2 separate regions of the Homo sapiens genome follow, and region 2 is linked to region 1. The links are contacts of gene promoters, found by promoter capture Hi-C in human tissues and cell types (Jung and others, 2019). All regions are on one chromosome and are shown on one strand. Each heading gives the region's core, a stretch centred on a gene start or on the middle of the fragment in contact. The rest is flanking DNA. Distances are from core to core; before and after follow the strand shown. Region 1 holds the start of RAD51AP1 (RAD51 associated protein 1). Region 2 overlaps NDUFA9 (NADH:ubiquinone oxidoreductase subunit A9).

The links. Contacts are between HindIII fragments. The study calls those that stand out against the background at their distance.
Region 2: a contact is called between a fragment that was not itself captured here and the fragment with the promoter of RAD51AP1 in region 1, in 1 of the 25 tissues and cell types used here (H1 embryonic stem cells).

Annotation. Positions count from the first base shown.
Region 1 is chr12:4,535,121-4,541,328 of GRCh38, forward strand. RAD51AP1 (RAD51 associated protein 1) reads left to right here and starts at 3,770. Exons shown (of 9, transcript NM_006479.5): 1 at 3,770-3,836. The coding sequence starts at 3,820. It overlaps FERRY3 (FERRY endosomal RAB5 effector complex subunit 3), which reads right to left and starts at 3,349. Exons shown (of 14, transcript NM_020374.4): 1 at 3,289-3,349; 2 at 897-1,099. The coding sequence starts at 1,074. RefSeq lists enhancers at 250-309, 2,984-3,593, 3,594-4,202 and a silencer at 3,329-3,378. The HindIII fragment of the contact is 8,045 bases long and covers 1,124-6,208 here.
Region 2 is chr12:4,675,849-4,682,056 of GRCh38, forward strand. The region is part of intron 8 of NDUFA9 (NADH:ubiquinone oxidoreductase subunit A9); the gene reads left to right. Among named protein-coding and RNA genes, the nearest start is that of NDUFA9, 30 kb to the left of the region's middle. The HindIII fragment of the contact is 9,697 bases long and covers 1-6,208 here.

The DNA of each region.
Region 1 (6,208 bases), core at 2,520-5,019:
TATAACGGAAGAGCACTGAGAGAGAAGTTAGGACACCTGTGTTCTGGCTTTGGCTCTATTATTATCACTATGTTCGCGACTTTAGACTGTGGTTCACAATCTTAAGTGTGCATTAGAAACCCCTGGAGGCCTTATTTAAACAGACTGCCACATGCTACCCTAGTTTCTGATTCAGCAGAAATGGGATGCAGCCCGAGAATTTGCATGTCTAACAAGCTTGCAGGTGATGCTGTTGCTGCTAAATGATTAGAAACCATATTTCAAGAACCACTGCCTAGGGTAAATAATTTAACCTCTTTATGTTCCAGTTTCCTTGTTTGTACAATGTGATTGGGCTATAAAGTTTCTAGGTTCTCTTATAACTCTAACCTGTGATCTAACATATTCTGAATTTTAAATTTTTCCTAGACTGTGAGATAGAGCACAGACCTTTAAAAATGGTTTAATACATCTAACTTTATAAAACTAATTTAGGTAAGCAAAGACTATTCAAAAATTAGTACACTTTCTGTTCTATGGCATCTCAGAAATTAATGACCAGATTATTAAAAGGGCAACCAATTTAGCACTATAATTCTATTAGCACAATTAGCGATAGCTAAACTGCCTTATAACTTCACCCAACTAAATTCAGAAGAGCTCCTCTAATTCCAAACTTTGTAGCTAATTTTTCATTATAAAATCTAATTTTTATATTTTATAAACAACTACCACTTATAGGAAAAAACACTCAATAAAAGAAAGCTCTGGAGAAATGTTTTTATTCTTGGAATCAGTTCCTATGTTATGGCTGTTTCCAAAGCTTCTTAGGTTTATGCTTTCTAATATGAAACTTCCAATGACAGACTATTGAAACTAATAAAGTGGTGTTACTTAAAAAAAAAAACAGTCCTCACCTTTTTCTATAAAGCACGGTAAACTGTGCAGCAGCATCAGACGTCCATGCAAATGACTGGCATTCTCTTGAACAGGAAATTTGAGTGGCACTCTCAGTTCTAAGCACTGACTTCCTACTTTAAATTTATATACAAATTCTCTCTCTCTATTGCAGAATCTTTCTCTGTTTTTCTTCATATTCTTTGACAGGATTTCTACAGAACTAACAAAAAAGCAGTAGGTTATAAGTCCATAAAGAAATTATGTTTCATTATTGCTGTCCCATTTCTAAGAAAACATTCCACCATTCAAGAGATTTTGTCTATGAGCCAATTATTCTAGTTTTTCCCAAGTGTTTATCCCTGTACTTCCATCTTCATGATGAAAACAAAGTGCTTCTTTAAAAAAAAAAAAAAAGACACTTTGTTTTAAACTTGATTTAAGAAAAAAAATTATGGCCATAAAGTACTTTATATTCCAAGGCAGGGTTCTCAATAATAGGGAAGGACCATGGAGAGAAGAGCAGAGAGAATTCTTAGGGAGAGTTCATGGGTGGGGAAATACAAAGCTTAAGAAACCGTTGGTAAAAAGAAAGTCAAAGAAGCAGATCAGGGACCAAGGAGTGATCCTGGAGAACTTAGAGGTTGTGGTCATGAGATCCGACTGGGGGAAGGGGAGTAAGAAAGTGTTAGAAAGATTTCCATGTGGGAAGAAGATACACAGAAAAGAGAGAGTACAGGACCTCCACTTCCGGCCCACACCCCAAAGGCAAACTAGACACTACTAAGGAAGAAGAAAATCTAGTTAAAGGCAGTAAGAATCAACATCAATTAAAGATTTATTTATTCATCAGCCTTGTAACTGGACTTCCTATGGCTAGGCTTTCTCCCATCAAATCAGTTCTTACATTATTTTCTACACTGAAGTTATAGTAATCTTCCTTTTTAAAAAAGGAATATACTTATCTGATCATGTTGTTCATCCGCTTAAAAACTTTCTATGACATTCCATTGCTCTCAGGATAAAATGCAAACTCTTTATCCCAGTTTACAACACCCCTGCTTATATTTCCACTCTTCTCTCAGAAACTGCACCTCTCCTTCCTAATACACAAATTCACAAATTTTATTTTCCAGCCATTCTGAACTTCTGTCAACACCAAACTTCTCCTTCCATGCCGAATCTTTTTGAATGCCTTTTCCTTTGCCTAGAGCACTCTTACTGATCTTAATTTCATTGGATAACAATTGCTAATTCTTCAGGTCTCAGTTAAGCCTCTAGGAAGACTTATCCAACTCCCTAAAACTGGATTGGGTCCCGACAGGCTCTCATATTAGCCTAGACTTATTTGAATCATGGCACTTATCACGCTCTATTTCTTACTCTTGGCTAGAAAACAGTCTTCTTGAAGTGGAAGGAATACTGTCTTGTATTCCATGTATTAGGCAGGATGTTGCGAATGGCAAGAACTAATAAATAATTGTTGGATTGTATGGCGTTTTTATTTTATGGTGCTCACTGGAAAAATAAAGAACAAAAAATTATTCATACGGTTATTTAAAAAGATATCACCTGAAATATAAAAAAAACTCAAAGGACTTTTGTACATGTCGTGGGGCGGGGCTAAGTTGAATTATCCAGACTATATTTTCAAATCTGTATGTAGGCTATACACAAAAATCTTCGTCTATTTCACCATAATGCAAAGAGATAGGGTATTTGTTTTACTCAGAAAGAATTAAAATTAAACGTAAAGCAATACAAATTTTTATAATGTTAGAAAACTACCAAAACTACATAAAGGTATATTCTATGATGTAGAAATTTCATTCCTAAGTATATATCCAAATACACACACACGCATATGTTCGCTAAAGTACACCCAGAAGAATGCTCATATAAGTTTTATTTATAATACCCCAAACTGGAAACAACCAAAATGCGTATTAGTAGGAGAATAGTAAACTTGTTTATTTTATGAGATAAATACTACACAGCAATAAAAAAGAATCAACCACTGATAAATGCAAAAATATGAATGAATCAGGAATGTTGAAAAAAAAAAGAGAAGGCAGACACAAAAGCTCTGGTTCAACATTTAGACTTGTGTTTCAAGAAACTGATAACTTTAGTTCTTTCTCCTCTCGCTCTTTTTTTAGACTAATGGTCTATCCTGAAGCCTGGGTTCAGTTTTAGCAACCGTGAAATCCAGGAAGGTTTCCCATAAGAAAATGGGATGGAAGGTCTGGACCGAACACACACAGCCAACAGAGCGGAGGCTCTGAGGCTCACATTAATCAGGGAAAAGGAAGACAGACGGTCGAGCTGAGAAACTTCAGCCGGGTGAGGGGACTAATCCCTCTGTAACGGTTGTCAGTCTGAAAGGGCATCCTCACTCGGTTCTGGGCTCACCTCGTCTAGTTCCGAAGTCCTGGGCAGTCCGCTCACTCGAGCTGTCAGCGCGTCCTGCACTGGGAAACCAGCTGACTTGCCGACATACTTTTTCCACACCGCGGATCCGCGAACGTAGATTCGCCACATCCTTTTCTATTTCCTGGCATCTTGTAGAAAATTTCTCAGTCCAAGTGCCCCTATGTCCCAACCTGTTTCAATTTAACAATTTGAAAGGTGCAATAAGGTGTATTTCTATTGTTATTCTGTATTTCAGAGACAGGGCAAATCCGCCGTTGTGACGAAAGTGCAGGGACAAAGCACAAACTCGGCTCTGGTGGACCGGATACGGAAAAGCGGTGCCTTGGGGAGGGCGGGAGCAAATTCGCTTTCCCCACAGCGCGTGCGCCGCCGCAAGCATGGCTGGTGATGATTGGACGACTGGTAACAGGGGGCGGAGGGCTCCGAAGTCTGGTTTTGGGCGGGAATTGAAACCGCCGCTGAAGCCAACAAGAATTTGAGAACTGTAAATACCAAGCCTTGAAAGGGACCATGGTGCGGCCTGTGAGGTGGGTAGTTCCTGACATTCGTCGGGGGTGGGAGGAAAACTAAGGGAAAAGACATGAGACTAAGGGGAAAGGATCGAGTAAGACCGGAGGGCAGCGATGGTGGGGTTAGGATGGACGGTTATCAAGAACCCAGTCTCCAGTGAGAGCCACCCGTTGCTCAGAAGTATCCTAGCATCGTAGCTTTTTCCTTCTCTTTGCCTCCCTTCACAACCGTCGCCGTTTCTTTTACCAAGACCTTGTTAGCGTTTGAACAGCGCTTTACATTTCACCGAGCGCCCAATTATGTGTTATTTTATTTGTTTATCACTGTAGTTATTTGATATAGAAAGAGTAAGCATTCCTGTTGTATTGATTTAACATTTCTACGTATAGAGGGTAAGTTATCTGAGTCATACAGCCCAGTAAGTGGCAGGGCAATACTCAAACCTAAGTCATCTCACTCAAGATCCTCTGTGCTTTCCATCGTGGTATTAGAAACGATTCTTCTATTTACACAGTTGAGTGCCATGGAAGCCTATAGTTAGCCATTCATTTAATAAAGTTATTGAATATATTCACTTCTTTAGTGTACGAGGTGCTGGAGGTTACATTCCAGTGGGAGGTGAGGTTAGGGGGCCGAAAATAAGCCTCGAAATATGAGAGTGCGAAAGAGGAAAGCACTACTTTAAATATAGTAGTTAATATGTGACTCTGAGGCGATAATGCATGCACTGAGTCATGAATCAGGGTAGAGGGAATAGGAGCCAAGGCCCCATACTTGACCATATTTTAGGGACAGTCTAATGCTATAGGATTAACAAGCAGTGGGGAGAATCGTAGGGGGATTAGGCCAGAGAAATAGGCAGGTGCCAGAACAGATAGGGTCTTGTAAGTCTTAGAAAGGAGTTTAGGTTTTATTTTAAGTCAATGGGAAGTCAGTGGAGGGTTTTAAGTAGGGGAGAGGAATCTAAGTTTGCTTTTATAAAGGTCACTGGCTGTTGGTGGAGAATAAATGATGGATAGGGTGACCAGAACGGGAGCAGGAAAATCAGGTATTATATCATTGGAGAGCGGTTTGGGATAGGGTATTATTAGTGGGCATGGAATGGAACAGATGAATTTGGGATGTATTTCGGAGGCACTGTGGACAGAACTTGCTGATGAAGTAGATGTACAGGTAAGGGAAAGAAAGAATCAGAGATGACTCCACAATAGTTTTGGTCTGAGCTACAGGATGGATGATCTTTGTATTAAGATAGGGAAGACTAGGAAAAGGAAGGTTAGGAGGTGTGAGGGATCAAGATTTCTGTTTCGAACATGCTGAATTTGAAATGGGTTTTAAGCATCCAGGCAGTGGAGTCATAATCCCTTTGTAAGGAACAGCAGTTGTTAAAGTATGGTCTACAGACCTCTGTGGGTCCCTGGAAACTTCTCTAGAGGTCTATGAGGTCAAAACTCCTTTCATAACAATACTAAGATATGATTTGCCTTTTTCGCTGCTTTGTCATTTGCACTGCAGTGACCCCGATAAAACTGCTGGCACCTCAGAACAATTAAGGCAGTGGCACTAAATTGTACTACTAGTCTTTGCAATGTTTACTGCCATACTCTTAAAAGTAAAAAAAAAAAAAAAAATCATTTCAGTTAAGAATATGCTTGATGAAGTAGTGGAAATTATTATATTCATCATAGCTTAACCCTTAAGTATACTAATTAAAAATAGGCTATTGATTTTATTTTACTATTATTCAAGTTCAGAATTTATAAAGGGGTTTTCACATTTTATTCAGCTCTAACTTCTTTAACTCTGAAGAGTAAGAGAGTAATATGAGTGCACTTTTTAATAGTTTGCGTGAGGAAACAGGAAGTACACATAAAGCACTTCTGTATACTGATGCGTGATAGTTATCTCAAGGAAAAGCACTTGTGAGATTGTCTGAGTTGTGAGCTGAGCTTACTACCTCTTTTTCATAGAACATTCTTTTTACTTGAAAGAACAACCAGCTGACAAATTAGGTTATTCACATTTAGCCATTTGACAAAAATATAGAAATAAAAACTAGAAAAACATTTTATTTAGTGCCTAGAGGAGGGAGGAAAAAATTATTTTTTTCACTTTGAATATCATTTTCTTCTAATGCCCTCTGAAGTAGTACAAGTTGAGCATCCCAAATTTGAAATGCTCCAAAATTTGAAACTTTTGCAGTACCTACATGGCACTCAAAGGAAATGTTCATTGGAGCACTTCAGATTTTAGATTTTCAGATTTGGGATGCTCAGCTGGTAAGTATATAATGCAGATATTCCAAAATCTGAAAAAATCCAAAATTCAAAACATTTCTGGTTCCAAGCATTTCAGATAAGGGATACTCATCTCAGGTGGTAGGAACAAG
Region 2 (6,208 bases), core at 1,295-3,794, 140 kb after region 1:
CAGCAAAAAAAGAAAATTTCAGGCCAATGTCCCTGATGAACATTGAATCGAAAATCCTCAATAAAATCCAGCAGCACATCAAAAAACTTATCCAGCACGATAAAGTTGGCTTCATCCGGGGATAAAAGGCTGGTTCAACATATGCAAATCAATAAATGTAATCCATCACATAAACAGAACCAATGACAAAAACTACATGAATATTTCAATAGATGCAGAAGGCCTTCGACAAAATTCAACAGCCCTTCATGCTAAGAACCCTCAATAAACTAGGTGTTGATGGAATATATCTCAAAATAATAAGAGCTATTTATGACAAACCCACAGCCAATATCATACTGATTGGGCGAAAACTGGAAGCATTCCCTTTGAAAATCGGCACAAGACAAGGATGCCCTCTGTCACCACTCGTGTTCAACGTAGTGTTGGAAGTTCTGGCTGGGACAATTAGGCAAGAGAAAGAAATAAAGGGTATTCAATTAGGAAAAGAGGAAGTCAAATTGTCTCTGTTTGCAGATGACATGATTGTATATTTAGAAAACTCCATTGTCTCAGCCCCAAATCTCCTTAGCTGGTAAGCAACTTCAGCAAAGTATCAGGATACAAAATCAATGTGCAAAAATCACAAGCATTCCCATACACCAATAACAGACAAACCATGAGTGAACCAAATCATGAGTGAACTTTCATTCACAATTGCTACAAAGAGAATAAAATATCTAGGAATCCAACTTAACAAGGGATGTGAAGGACCTATTCAAGGAGAACTACCAACCACTGCTCAAGTAAATAAGAGAGGACACAAACAAACAAATGGAAAAACATTCCATGATCATGGATAGAAAGAATCAATACAATGAAAATGGCCATATTGCCCAAAGTAATTTGTAGATTCAGTGCTATCCCCATCAAACTTCCATTGACTTTCTTCACAGAATTGGAAAAATACTACTTTAAATTTCATATGGAACCAAAAAAGAGCCCACATAGCCAAGACAATCCTAAGCAAAAAGAACAAAGCTGGAGGCATCATGCTACCTGACTTCAAACTATACTACAAGGCTACAGTAACCAAAACAGCACGGTACTGGTACCAAAACAGGTATATAGACCAATGGGACAGAACAGAGGGCTCAGAAATAATGCCACACATTTACAACCATCTGATCTTTGACAAATCTGACAAAAACAAGCAATGAGGAAATGATTCTCCGTTTAATAAATGGTGTTGGGAAAACTGGCTAGCCATATGCAGAAAGCTGAAACTGGATCCTTTCCTTACACCTGATACAAAAATTAACTCAAGATGGATTAAAGACTTAAACGTAAGACCTAAAACCATAAAAACCTTAGAAGAAAAGCTAGGCAATACCATTCAGGACATAGGCATGGGCAAAGACTTCGTAATTAAAACACCAAAAGCAATGGCAACAAAAGCCAAAATAGACAAATGGGATCTAATTAATCTAAAGAGCTTCTGCACAGCAAAAGAAACTATCATCAGAGTGAACAGGCAACCTACAGAATGGGAGAAAATTTTTGCAATCTATCCTTCTGAAAAAGGGCTAATATCCAGAATCTACAAAGAACTTAAACAGATTTACAAGAAAAAAACTTCATCAAAAAGTGAGCGAAAGATATGAGCAGACACTTCTCAAAAGAAGACATTTATGCAGCTCAACAAACATATGAAAAAAGCTCATCGTCACTGGTCATTAGAGAAGTGCAAATCAAAACCACAGTGAGATACCATCTCATGCCAGTTAGGATGGCAATCATTAAAATGTCAGGAAACAACAGATGCTGGAGAGGATGTGGAGAAATAGTGACGCTTTTCCACTGTTGGTGGAAGTGTAAACCATTGTGGAAGACAGTGTGGCAATTCCTCAAGGATCTCGAAGTAGAAATACCATTTGACCCAGTAATCCCATTACTGAGTATATATACCCAAAGGATTATAAATTATTCTAGTATAAAGCCACATGCACACGTATGTTTATTACGGCACTGTTCACAATAGCAAAGACTTGGAACCAACCCAGATGCCCATCAATGATAGACTGGATTAAGAAAATGTGCCACATATACACCATGGAATACTATGCAGCCAGTATACAGAAAAGGATGAGTTCATGTCCTTTGCAGGGACATGGATGAAGCTGGAAACCATCATTCTCAGCAAACTAACACAAGAACAGAAAACCAAACACCATATGTTCTCACTTATAAGTGGGAGTTGAACACATGGAAACAGGGAGGTGAACATCACACACTGGGGCCTGCTGGAGGTGGGAGGCTAGAGGAGGGATAGCATTAGGAGAAATACCTAATGTAGATGGCAGGTTGATGGGTGCAGCAAACCACCATGGCACATGTATACCTATGTAACAAACCTGTACGTTCTGCACATGTACCCCAGAAGTTAAAGTATAATTAAAAAAAAAATTTCAATTGGTAAAAATGTAAAAAAATAAATAAAAGAGTTATAAAACTATAATAATTTTGGAAGGAAAATAGAAAATCTTCTAGACCTTGGATTCTAGAAGATTTTTACCTATGGCATCAAAAGCCTATTTCATAAAATAAAAAATAAATGGATACATTAGACTTCACCAAAATTAAAGCTCTTGTGTTTCAAAAGACACCATTAAGAAAATGAAAAAACAAGTCACAGATTGGGGGAAAATATTTGTTAATTACATATCTGATAGAGGACTACTATCTAGAATATACAAAGAAATCTTAGAACTCAATGAGAAGATGATCCATTTTTTAATATGAGCAAAAGACATGAATAGGCATATCAGCCCAGCAGATGTACTTAATCACTAAAAAACATATGAAAAGATGCTCCATATCATTAGTCATTACAGAAAATGCAAATCAAAACCATTATGAGATACCAGTTCACAGAGAGAAAATAACAAATGTTGAGGAAGACATGGAGTAATGAGAACCTTCATACATTGCTGGTAGGGGTGTAAAATTGTATAGCCACTTTAGAAAACAGTTTGGCATCTTCTTAAAAAGTTAGCATAAATTTACCATATGGCCTATCAATTTTACTCCTAGATATTTACCCAAAAGAAATGAAAATGTGTCTACACAAAGATTTGCACTTGAATTTTCATAGCAGCGTTATCATAAATGCTAAAAATTGGAAACATCCCACATATTCATTAACTGATGAAAGGAGAAATAAAATATAGTAGCATTCTCATATAATAGAAGTTCAACAATAAAAGGAATGAAATATTGACATGTTACATGTGTGAACCTCAAAAACATGGTAAATGAAAGAAGCTAGATACAGAAGATCACATGTTGTGTGATTCCGTTTATATGAAGTATCTATAAAAGGCAAATGTAAGTAGATTAGTGATTGCCTGAGCCTGGGAGTAAAATCCAGGATTAAATGGCTGTGGAGGATCTTACTAGAGTAAGGAAAAATATTCTAAAACTGGATTATGGTAATGATTGTACAACTTGGTAAATGTATGAAAAATCATTGAATTATATGCTTAAAATGGATGAATTTTAATGTATGTAAATTATACCACAATAGTGAATAGCATGGGTAAGATTTCTGCCTTTGTGGAGCTTATAGATTAGTGATGAGATGCATAAGTAATAATTAAGCAAAATAATTAAAATAAATGACCGAAAAGGAAAGTCCAGTTAATTGGAAAGAAAACCAGAAGGAGGAAGTTGGCAACTATATTGGATGCTGCCAGGAGGTTGAGTGAGTGACAGCATAGAGATTCATGGTCACCTTAATGACCTCATTTGAACATTAGGCAAAGGGCAGATTGGATTGCAGTGAGATTTGAATGGCAGGATAGGAAGTGGAGGCAACAGTTAGGTAACTATTTGGAGAAGTTTCCCTGTAAAAGGGAGCAAAGGAAACGGGTAAAGAGAAGGCTATGAAACATGAATGTCTTGTCAAGGGAGGTACCACCCTGGATTTGGAAGATGGTACATCTTGTTTATAAATTGGTAAGAATGGTCCAGGAAAGAGATGTCACTTCATGACTCAGGAGATGAGGCCGACAGAAAAGGAGCAAAGTCCTTCAGGAATTGAGAGGAGTTGGATACAGAGTGCAAATGAGGGTTTGACCTTTGTAAAAGGCAAACATTTCTTCAACTTTAACAAGGAAAAGAATTCAAGGATATATGCAGATGCAGGTAGGTTTGGCTGTGGGAATGTTAGGAGTATCTTTTCTTGTTGGAATGTGAGGTTAGCTAAAAGGCAGGATGGAGTGGGTCAGAAAAGTGTGTGGAAAATTTGAGGACAGAAGATAGAAAGTATGCCCTGGGAGAACAGGAAAGAGCATTTCCTAGGAGAACATGTGGGATTGCCAAGCAGAACTGAGTGTTCCATTGGAAATTACTGATAAAAAAATAAGGTGAAGTCAATCAGTTCAATTGTATTTCGTCTACAGTTTTGTCCTTCTGGGGTTTCAGGCTCAGAGAAGGCACATGTTTGGGTCAACCAGAGTGAGTTTTGCTTAGCAAGTATAGTGGGTAGGGGCCTGGGAGACAAGATTTTGCTGAGGATATTTGCAGAGGAATAACTGTGATGCTGAGCCTTGAAATCTAAGCTGGGAGGATGCGGGCTTCAATGTACCTTTGGCTGTGAGGAAGGGCACTTAAACTAGTGTTCCGGTTGCACTTGATGGAACACAAAGTGCTTCAGAACAGCTGAAAAGGAAACCTATTATGTAGAGTTAGTTAACCCATGATACCAGTTTTGTTTGTCATCGTAAAAATTCAAGTTGCTCTTGGCGTAGCATGTATTATATGTCCTGTAATGATCCTTACAAATCCCTCTGGAATTTGAAGAACCCTGCTAAGGCCTTTGTCTGATATTTCTCCTGGCTGATAGTTTCATGTTTTTTAGTAAAGTATGTCAGAATAATGAGGTTCTCACTGAATTACCTTCACTCAGCTCTTGGTTGTCACAGATTTACTGTCATGAAGCATGCAAATGAATTAGGAAATGGGTAAAGAAATATTAAAATGCATTATAAGCACTGATACTTATTAATGCTAGGTTAAAATCGTACAGAACTATTCAGATTAATGGAATAGAGCGGAACGTTCAGAAACAGTCCCATTATATGTAAGGATATAGTATGTGATAAGGGTGACATTTCAGTATAGGGAAAGAGGCAGTACAGTAAATGATTCTGTAAGTAGCATTGAAGCAATTGGCTTACATCTTGGGAAAAATATAATTACATGTTTACCTTATATAATGTACAAAAATACGTCACAGAAGGAACTTTATAGTAAAAAAAAAATCTTTTTTATAAGGTTTAGACAAAATATGTAGAAATTTATGTCACTGCAGAGGAATTTTCTAACTATGAATCCAAGCCATAAAGAAAATCAGTAGTTTTGGTTAAATTAAACAGTTAAAATTTTATGTGCACAAAACACTGTAAATAACACTAAAAGTTAAAATACAAACAATAAAAGGTATTTCCAACAATATCACTAAAATATAGAGAATTCTTACAAATTATTTTTATAGACAGGGACTCCAGGAGGAAAGAAAAGATAGATGTATAAATGACCAAAAATTCGTGAAGAAATGATCTCTCATATTAAAGACATAATAATTAAAACATGAGATACCTTTTTTTTTTTAACCTAGCAGATTGGCAAAAATTTTATTTTCTTATGACAACTCATTTCGGGTGGAGGGGGCATTCTTATATATAATTACATATATATAATTATAATTTATATAATTATCTAAAATGTTATATACTTAACATTTTATATAAATTGATAGAACCATTTTGAAAAGCAGTTTAGAAGTATTCAATAAAAGCCTTAAAATTTTAAAGTCTACATTGACCCAGTTCCACTTCTACAAATATATTCTAAATGCGTAATCATGGATAAGTACAAATATTTATTACAAGAATGTTCATTAAAACATTATAAAAGAAAAAAATTTTAATAGCATAAATATCTCAAAACTGGCAATTGATAAAATAATTGTGATTACATGCAGTGTAATATGTTGTCATGAAACATGCAATAAAATAATGATGTGGAAAGACGATTATGATGTAATGTTAAATGAAAAAGACATTACGGAATAGAATGGATTGTGTATTTATTAAAAGCAGAATAATGTATATATGTAAGGGGATGAGAAGGATATAGATCAAATATATTAACTATCTTTCATAAT